Linked DNA regions of Homo sapiens: regions 1 and 2 are each linked to region 3. The links are contacts of gene promoters, found by promoter capture Hi-C in blood cells and fetal thymus (Javierre and others, 2016). All regions are on one chromosome and are shown on one strand. The core of a region is centred on a gene start or on the middle of the fragment in contact, and the rest is flanking DNA. Distances in the headings are between cores, read along the strand shown.

Region 1 (2,700 bases), core at 18-2,517, 2.2 Mb after region 3:
GGTGAAGGAGAAAAGAAGGTTCATGTGATAGAAGAAAGGATCCGTGGTGCTGAAAGACTCCAGTGCTAACTGAAGCTGCTAGAGAATTAACCGCAGACCAAAATAAATTAATGTAAAATGGTCACCATTGCCTCCACTCAAGTTTTCTGAGGGTGAATGTTTTTCATATGGCCAAATATGAAGAATTTGATTTGCAACTCCCAAATCTCTAAAGCTATGAAAGCCCAGAGTCCCCCAGCTCAGATGCAGGTGGGTCTCCCTCTCAGGTGACTGTCCTGGAGATTGTTACAGGGTCTCAGGCTTCAGGCAACAGGAGAAAGCTGTGGTAAGCCTCCTCATTCCCTTTACCACCAAGGCTGCAGCAACTACTTCAACACCATTTTCTTCCATTTCCAATGACTACTGTTAACGAGTTTGCAACTCAACATATCATTCCAACACCCCCCTCCCAAAAAAATCTTATTCATGATTTTGACACATAAGAAGGCAATTGATACTGTGAAATGTCAGAGCAAATTGGCACATTTTGTTCACCACAACTTAATGATTTCTTATTATTTACTTCAAATCGCCATTCCCACATTTATTACAAAGGTGAATTTTTAACAGAAACCTGTGATTTTTCCAGACTACGTGCCCTTTGAACGCTAAGCCCCTCAGCTCGAACATGCCTGAAATACATGCACAAACAATATAAAAAGGCCCATAGCCCAGGATCCAAGTGGCATTTGGAATTCCAGCCCACTGAGAAATGTTTCCACCTACTTCCCATGACTAGAAAGCAGCTGAAGGAAAGTCACTCTGAACAGTAATTGCATGTTTTGTAAAAGCTATCAAAAGTTACACACAGATGCATTTTACAAAGACCTGGAGGGGTGTTCACACTTCTTGGCAGGTGTGTGAGCCTGTGGCTCTAACAAACCTGGCCCTAGAGCCACAAAGGTGGCTCAGGTGATCTTGAACACATCTCTATTAGATGATTTTAAACATTGCCTCCACATCTGTATGGCTTGGCAGCAAGCTGCAAATGTGTTTCTGTCACTGGAGCCCTTCAAGGGCTGCTATCTTCCCGTAAGCCATAATGAATCCCACAGTCAAACACTGCATGGTGTGCAAACTTCTGAACACCTGCACTCTCCAAATCCTGCCTTTGACTTATGCGATAGCGTTTGTCACTTCATTGGCACTGCATTATAGAAACTAAGTGTAATTGCGACCTAGAAAGGTTCAACAGTGAAACCAAAAAAAGAATAAAAGTAAAGGAACCTCGGCTTAATATGGAGCATCAAGAACCGCCTCAGTCTCGGAGTGTTCGGAGGACTCCAGTTAACAGTGGAGGAAAACCAGGCTTGCGTTTGAATATTACTTTAGCTGGAAAACACTATTTCATTACATTAATGTCTGCACTAATTATTATAATAATCCTGAGTTTACACCAGTAACAAATCAATTGTAATGAGCTGAACAAAAGAATCTAGGTGGAATTCTTCCCTATAAATATGCTCCTGTCAGTGCAGTCAAAACACAGTGCCAGAACACTGCCTGTGTCAGTGAATAACACATTTTAAAACTGGTATGTCCTTTTAATCTCTTAATTGGTTGTGTATGTGGGAAATCCTATGAAAAGCGAAGTCTCTGTCCACCTGGATTTTTGAAGGATAGCTATACTTACAGCTGTCACAAGTTGTCAGTATTTTGTAAAGTGTCTGAGTCTGATTAGGTATAGAGGTGCGGAATTTGAGTGTCACAGAAGGGGCCTGAATTTGAATCTTGGAATGTAAACAAATTAGGATTTTGTAGTGCCTAATATAGTGTGCTCATACAGTTTCTTTGAATAAATGTGGTTGGTTGCCTTAAAAGTTAATCAATCCCCACTTCTAAAATAGTTTTACAACTGATATGGTTGAGCACAAAGAAATAATTTTTTATTCTAAAACAGCTCTGCAAAGTTGGATAGGGTTGACTTTAAAAGTTGCTCATGTGAACGATTCAGTCGTTTAGGCTCCTTTCACAGACATTACCCTATTGTATCCTCCTAACCCAGGAAGTAGATAGGAGAGGTTTAAAAGGTTCTGAAAGGTTAAATGAGTTCCTGAAGGTCACAATGCTAATTAACAGTTGAGCAATTTCTAGAACCCAGATCTCTGTGCACCTTGTTTATGACAACACATTTTCTCTGAACAGGTTATTTTTTGGTTAGATCATTGATGGTACTATATGGTGAGTGCTGAGGGAAACCTAGGAAGAATGATTCCACATTTAGGTTGTTGGCATGAGTTGCTATCTATGTAAACACGTCTTTAGAGTCTCTCAGAAATGAATGGAATTGCTTTTGTTCAGCTAACAGAAAATAACTAGTGGGCAATGTCATAGAAGAGGGAGAAATATCACTTAAGTTTGGGGACCACTTAATATAAGCATCTAACTGTGTGTGTGTGCATAGATGCTTGTGCATGCGTGCGTGTGTGTGTGTACATATGAGTAAGAAAGTGAAGGAGAAGCCCTGCGCGGTGGCTCATGCCTGTAATCCCAACACTTTGGGAGGCCGAGATGGGCGGATCCCAGGAGTTCAGCCTGGGCAACATAGTGAAACCCTATCTTTACAAAACATACAAAAAAAAAAAAAATAGCCAGGTGTGGTGGTGCGTGCCTGTAGTTCCAGCTACTCAGGAGGCTGAGGTGGGAGGATTGCTTGGGCTC
Region 2 (2,700 bases), core at 116-2,615, 2.2 Mb after region 3:
AAGGAAAGAAAGGGTCTACACCAACTCATCTCTGTCTCCTACTACCTATTACTAATGTTACTCAATTCCATTTCAGTAAATGTTTGGTGGCTTCTATATGCTGATCCCTTATTTTTGTGACTCTACTTCTCTGTCGTTGGCCAGGCATCCATTCTCCACCCTCTCAACCTCTCCCCATCTTGCCTTAACTACTCTCTAACTCTACTTTTGCAACCTGCTGTGCTTTCGCTCACTGCCTGTCTACTCCTTCCTTGCTACTTTTATAGCCATTTTTCTCATATCCACGGAAGACTAATGACCTTTGCTTTTAGCTGCTTCATCATGTTGGCATTTAAACACTAAAATGGTGTGATAGGCCTGCCACTGCGCAAGGGACCATGAGGACTGCCTTCATTTCTTCACTTTTTGTATCGTGTTTTTCAGTAATCATGTGGCCTCAGCTGACTTCGTAGGCATTTAGTTCACTACATTTTTGATAGACACATGAACTCAAAATATTCAGCTGGGGTTGATATGACCATTTTATGAAGAAAAGGAAGTTCGTAGACTTCTGGAATTTGTAAATAACATTTAGTCTCAACTGTGCCTTTGAAATTTTCAGCTGTAAGAAACGCTTTTGAAAATAGAAGACAAAAGTCCACCAGAGAGTTGCATTCCATTCTCTGGAGTTAAAAAAGTTCCACAATCTCAGTTGTAGGAAAAAAAAATGCTTATTTTTAGTGCTTTCTGTAATTTTCTGCTTGCAAAGAGACACATCTTTCATGACAGTGTCGTCATTTCATGGCCCTCAAAGTTTTCAATCAGTCTTGTTGACTTAAGCCTGGACTACCTAGGTTTAAGTGTATGACACACGATCAGATCAGTCATCTGGAAGCACTCTCTTTCTGCAGGTATCAACACCAAGTTACCTGCAGGAGGCAATTTTGCTTTGCTTTATAATAAAGATCTCAACATTAACTGATGCTTTGCTCTCTGAATCTCCTTTCACCTTTGATGGGAGCTGAGAGTCTCAGTAATCTCCAAAACATCTTTCTTGGGTGGATTTTTTAAATCGACAAGCCTTGATATGATTGTGCATGTTCTCATTTCTAACTTATTTTTAATGATAGAGATGAGCTGATAGCATATGTATGTGTTCTCCATTAGGCCAAGGAAATTAAGAGAGAATCTTATCCTCACTCCGTAGCCATGTAAAAATTAGTTTCCTTATTTTTTTGCCCCAGATGAATTCTGCATTGTTTTAATGAATTCATTCACAGTGTGAGGGCACACAGCATTGAAGAGACCTCAAGCAGTTTCACATTACAGACACTGACATAGCTTGCTAGAGATCTTCAAAGGCTTTTGTACTCTATTGCTTCATCATTTCTTGAGAAAATTATTTTTAGGCTGTCACACTCCCCCATTTCTTTTTTAAACAGCTACCAAAAAAAAAAAAAAAGGAATTAAGGGCAGAGGACGTGATCTGAACTATATCTGTTGTTTAAAAGATTAAATAATGTGTAACTGATACAGTATGCTGAAAAATAGATTTGCCTTATTTGTAAAATTACAGAAATTTTAATGTAAAATGAGGCAATTGAATTATCAGTGGTTTTCTAAATTTCTTTAGTAGTAGATACATCTTAATAAAAACCAAAATGTTATACAGGTGCCTAGTAAATAAAATGGAGGCTATACTAATTAAAATATAAGTTGGGGACTCTTAGAAATCTGCCTTCTCATCCCGCCTTTTGGCAATCTCTGGACACTTCTACGAACCTCTTAGACTAGACACTAAATGATCTTTGATATACATTTCCAAGACAAACACTATATGATTCTACTCAATTCAATTCAAAAAAATGTACTTGGGTGCCTAAAATATAACTGGAGATACAAAGATACATACAGTATCCTCCCTGCCTCAAGAAGCAACACACAATTCTGTTTTGAATACAGTGGCTCCTTGTACCCCCAACCCATTAGCATATTAAGCCCAAAAATAACCCACTGGTCTCTCTCCTGGAGAGTGTTATGGATCCCAGTGCCTGGTGCTGGTTACTACTCAATTAATTCTTACTGAGCAAACTTATTGAGCAAATGAAAGCATTTGAATTAAATAAGTGAGTTTCATGACTAAATAAAATAATGGGTAATATACTAAGAGTAAATGAAAATACAGTCCTAGGGAAATATTATATTCAATGCAATAGCTTAAAATAAATGTCATCCTTATAAACTGTTAAATCAAGTTTCTATATGGTTAAAAAAACATAATGAATGCCCTTCCTTGTCAGTTCCCCTACAACAAGCAGTGATCAGATACTTCAAAGGAAACCCTATCTTTTACTTAACTATGGAATAGTACTCCATGAGAGGAAATACCTGATTTCAACTGATGATTAGCATATGCCTTAAAAAATAGGGAAAAGGACTCTCAATGATTCTTAAATGTTAACTGTTTTTAATATCTTACTTGGGACTTTTAAGGCCTCTCAACCTCAGCTAATATCCTGTAACAAGAAATTCTCTAATATTGACAAAGCAAATAAGCAAATGTCTTGCATATTTTAAGTTGAGAGCTTAAGTATTTCTTTGCTCTTTTTTTCCCTTGTATTAGGAAGCTGCATTGCTTTCTTTCTACGGGAATAGTTTCACATAGCGACCTGTCCCAACACCTATGATTTGCATTGTGGACCAAAGGCCAGTGTGAAGACC
Region 3 (2,700 bases), core at 172-2,671:
TGAGATGAAATCGAGCTATATATTATGATATATCTATCCATCAATTCTAAGCACTAATAGCCCAAATGATTGCTGCTCTAATGCTCTGGCTCATCACGCCAATTTTTATTACAATCTTTACTTGGCTTCTTTCAGACTCTGGGTTATTACCTTCCGGCCGTAGGCCTTTACTAATTTGCATGACTTTTAAACTAATCATTAGACTTAAAAAGCAATTTTGCAATTTAAGTCCATGGCAATTAAATGACTTCCTACCTCAAGGCGCTAAATTACCCTGAAACACCTCATCAGACCTACCAGCCTATACAAGAGCAGGAAGTGTTGCAGTTGTGTTTTAGAACGTGCATGGCAGATTCACAAAATGTTAGGCATGAGAGTGGATTTCCTCGCACTGTGGGACTCCAAGTGCCCATAAAGGGCTTCATGCACCTTCTTAAACATGATGTCCAGCACTCTGGCCACCCCTTCCAAGGGTGTGTGTGTGCCTGTGTGTGTGTGTGTTTCAGTGGCTGCGGGGCCACACCTTGGGATCTCCTGAGTGGCAGGTGGCCTGTTAATGAGTCCTGACATCAGAGTCATTCCGGCATTTGTGTGTGTGTGTGTGTATGTGTGTGAGTGTGTCGGTGGCTGCGCGGCCACGCCTTGGGATCTCCTGAGTGGCAGGTGGCCTGTTAATGAGTCCTGACATCAGGGTCACCCCCGCATGCACAACAGTACAAGCCTCCCCGCGCAGCGGACTGTGCCGCGGACGCCTGCAAGCCGTGCACCCATCGCACACACTGAGGTCTCGGCGGTCATCCCTCGTGGGAGAGCTGGACAACCACGGCCGAAGGGAGGGCAGTCGAGGGGGGAATAGGCTGAGGGGCTGGGGGCGAGGTGGGTAGATCCTTCACAGGGCTTGGCGCTCCCTGTGTTTTGAGGGGCAGGACCCTGCACCAACCTCCACGAAGGCATCAGTCAGGTCACTAGCACGGTCCATCACTGGCAAATGGCGCCCGGCCACGATTTTCACCTTCAGCTTCCCTGGCATGGTCTCGGTTTCGGCCTCTTCTTGGGCTCCTGCAGAAACAAACAAACGAGTCTGCGCCGAGCGCGGGGCCGGCGGGAGAGGGGCGGAGGCGCGCGGGGTAACTGACAGCGAAGGAGCGCGCGGGGGCGCGCGCGGGCGCCCGGCAGTCGCGCCACGGGTCGCCACTCACTGTCGCAGGAGGAAGGGTGCTGTCCCGCGCGGGTGCTGAGACCTCATTCCGGAGAGGCGGCGGGAGGAAGGGCTTTGATGGGTTCTTCCGTCCCGGCCCCACAAGGCTGGGACGAAAAGCAAAACCCAGTCAGCATCCCGTTGAGCCTCTGCCGCCCCTGCTTGTCTCTCCTCCCCCGCTCTCAAAAATGGCGGCTCTCGGGGCGCGGAAGAAAGCATCGATCGTTCGGCGCTCTGCCCACTTGGCGGGGCGAAACTAAACTCGCCGAGGAAAGATAAGGGGGCGGGGCTGACGTTGAGAAAGCTGGAGGGCAGGGAAATGGGCCGAGTCCTGCATCATCCACCGAGTGGGGGCTGTGGATAGGTGCGGCGCTGCTTCCCTGGAGGGAAACGCTCCATCTTGCGGGCCGAAGCGCGAGTGCTGCTCTGTGACAGCCTCCGGCCGCGGCCTTCCCAGCTGCTACCGCCGCTTTTCGGATGGGCTGTGATAGATGGAGTAGCAGCGAAGACTGCTAGAAGAGCGTTTTCAGTCGGCCTTTAGTGATTCGTAAAACCAAATTAGCTGGTTTCTACTTGGAAGGGGTACAGGTGCGTGTGGTGGTTCCAGTTTTCTGTGAAATAGAGTTAGATGGCCAGGCACAGTGGCTCACGTCTGTAATCCCAGCACTTTGGGTGGCCGAGGCGGGCGGATCACCTGAGGTCAGGAGTTCAAGACCAGCCTGGACAACATGGCGAAACCCCGTCTCTACTAAAAATACAAAAATTAGCTGGGCGTCGTGGCGAGCGCCTCTAATTCCAGCTACTCAGGAGGCTGAGGCAGGAAAATCGCTTGAACCTGCGAGGCGGAGGTTGCAGTGAGCCGAGATCACTCCTCTGTCTCCAAAAAAAGAAAAAAAAGAAAGAAAGAAATAGAGATACCAGGCACATCTCGAATAGTGAAATAAATATTTAGTGAAATATTTTATTCAGTCATAGGCACTTGTGTTGTGCACTGGGTCACAGATATTACTGTGGGCGGGGTGGGGGAGGTCACCTTGAAATCCAAAGTCTCCTCTTGAAAAAAAGTTTCTGCTGGTAGGTGTGGTGGCTCAGATTTGTAATCCCAGCACTGTGGGAGGCTGAGGTGGGAGGATCGATTGAGTCCAGGAGTTCGAGACCAGCCTCATGGAGACGAGGCAACACAGTAAGACCCCTTCTTTACAAGAAATGCAAAAATTAGCTGGGCCGGTGGCTCGTCTGTGGTCTCAGCTACCTAGGAAGCTGAGGTGGGAGAATCTGGGAGAATTGCTTGAGCCCAGGAGTTTGAGGCTGCAGTGAGCTGCCATCTCACCACTGCACCCCAACCTGGGCAACAGAGCAAAACTCTGTCTCTTAAAAAAAATTTTTTTTTAATTAAATGTCCTGCACTCTTAGATCATCTCAGTGTTCTTATTAAGCATCCACAAGCCTAAAGATAAGACCTACAGTAGTAGCAGAAGTTCAGGACTTCCTACCATGGAAAG

What was found. Contacts are between HindIII fragments. The CHiCAGO score rates a contact against its expected background, and 5 or more counts as called.
Region 1: a contact is called between a fragment that was not itself captured here and the fragment with the promoter of C2CD5 in region 3, in 1 of 17 cell types (M2 macrophages). The highest score is 6.6, in M2 macrophages.
Region 2: a fragment that was not itself captured here is called in contact with the fragment with the promoter of C2CD5 in region 3 in 1 of 17 cell types (M2 macrophages); the score reaches 10.9 in M2 macrophages.

Annotation. Positions count from the first base shown.
Region 1 is chr12:24,715,619-24,718,318 of GRCh38, forward strand. All of the region lies in intron 1 of LOC124902897, which reads left to right. Among named protein-coding and RNA genes, the nearest start is that of BCAT1-AS1, 100 kb to the right of the region's middle. The HindIII fragment of the contact is 3,597 bases long and covers 1-2,700 here.
Region 2 is chr12:24,696,656-24,699,355 of GRCh38, forward strand. The region is part of intron 1 of LOC105369698 (a long non-coding RNA gene); the gene reads right to left. Among named protein-coding and RNA genes, the nearest start is that of LINC00477, 110 kb to the left of the region's middle. The HindIII fragment of the contact is 3,483 bases long and covers 1-2,700 here.
Region 3 is chr12:22,543,121-22,545,820 of GRCh38, forward strand. C2CD5 (C2 calcium dependent domain containing 5) reads right to left here and starts at 1,422. Exons shown (of 27, transcript NM_001286176.2): 1 at 1,200-1,422; 2 at 941-1,059. The coding sequence starts at 1,030. RefSeq lists enhancers at 1-182, 1,323-1,552 and a silencer at 1,063-1,182. The HindIII fragment of the contact is 7,848 bases long and covers 1-2,700 here.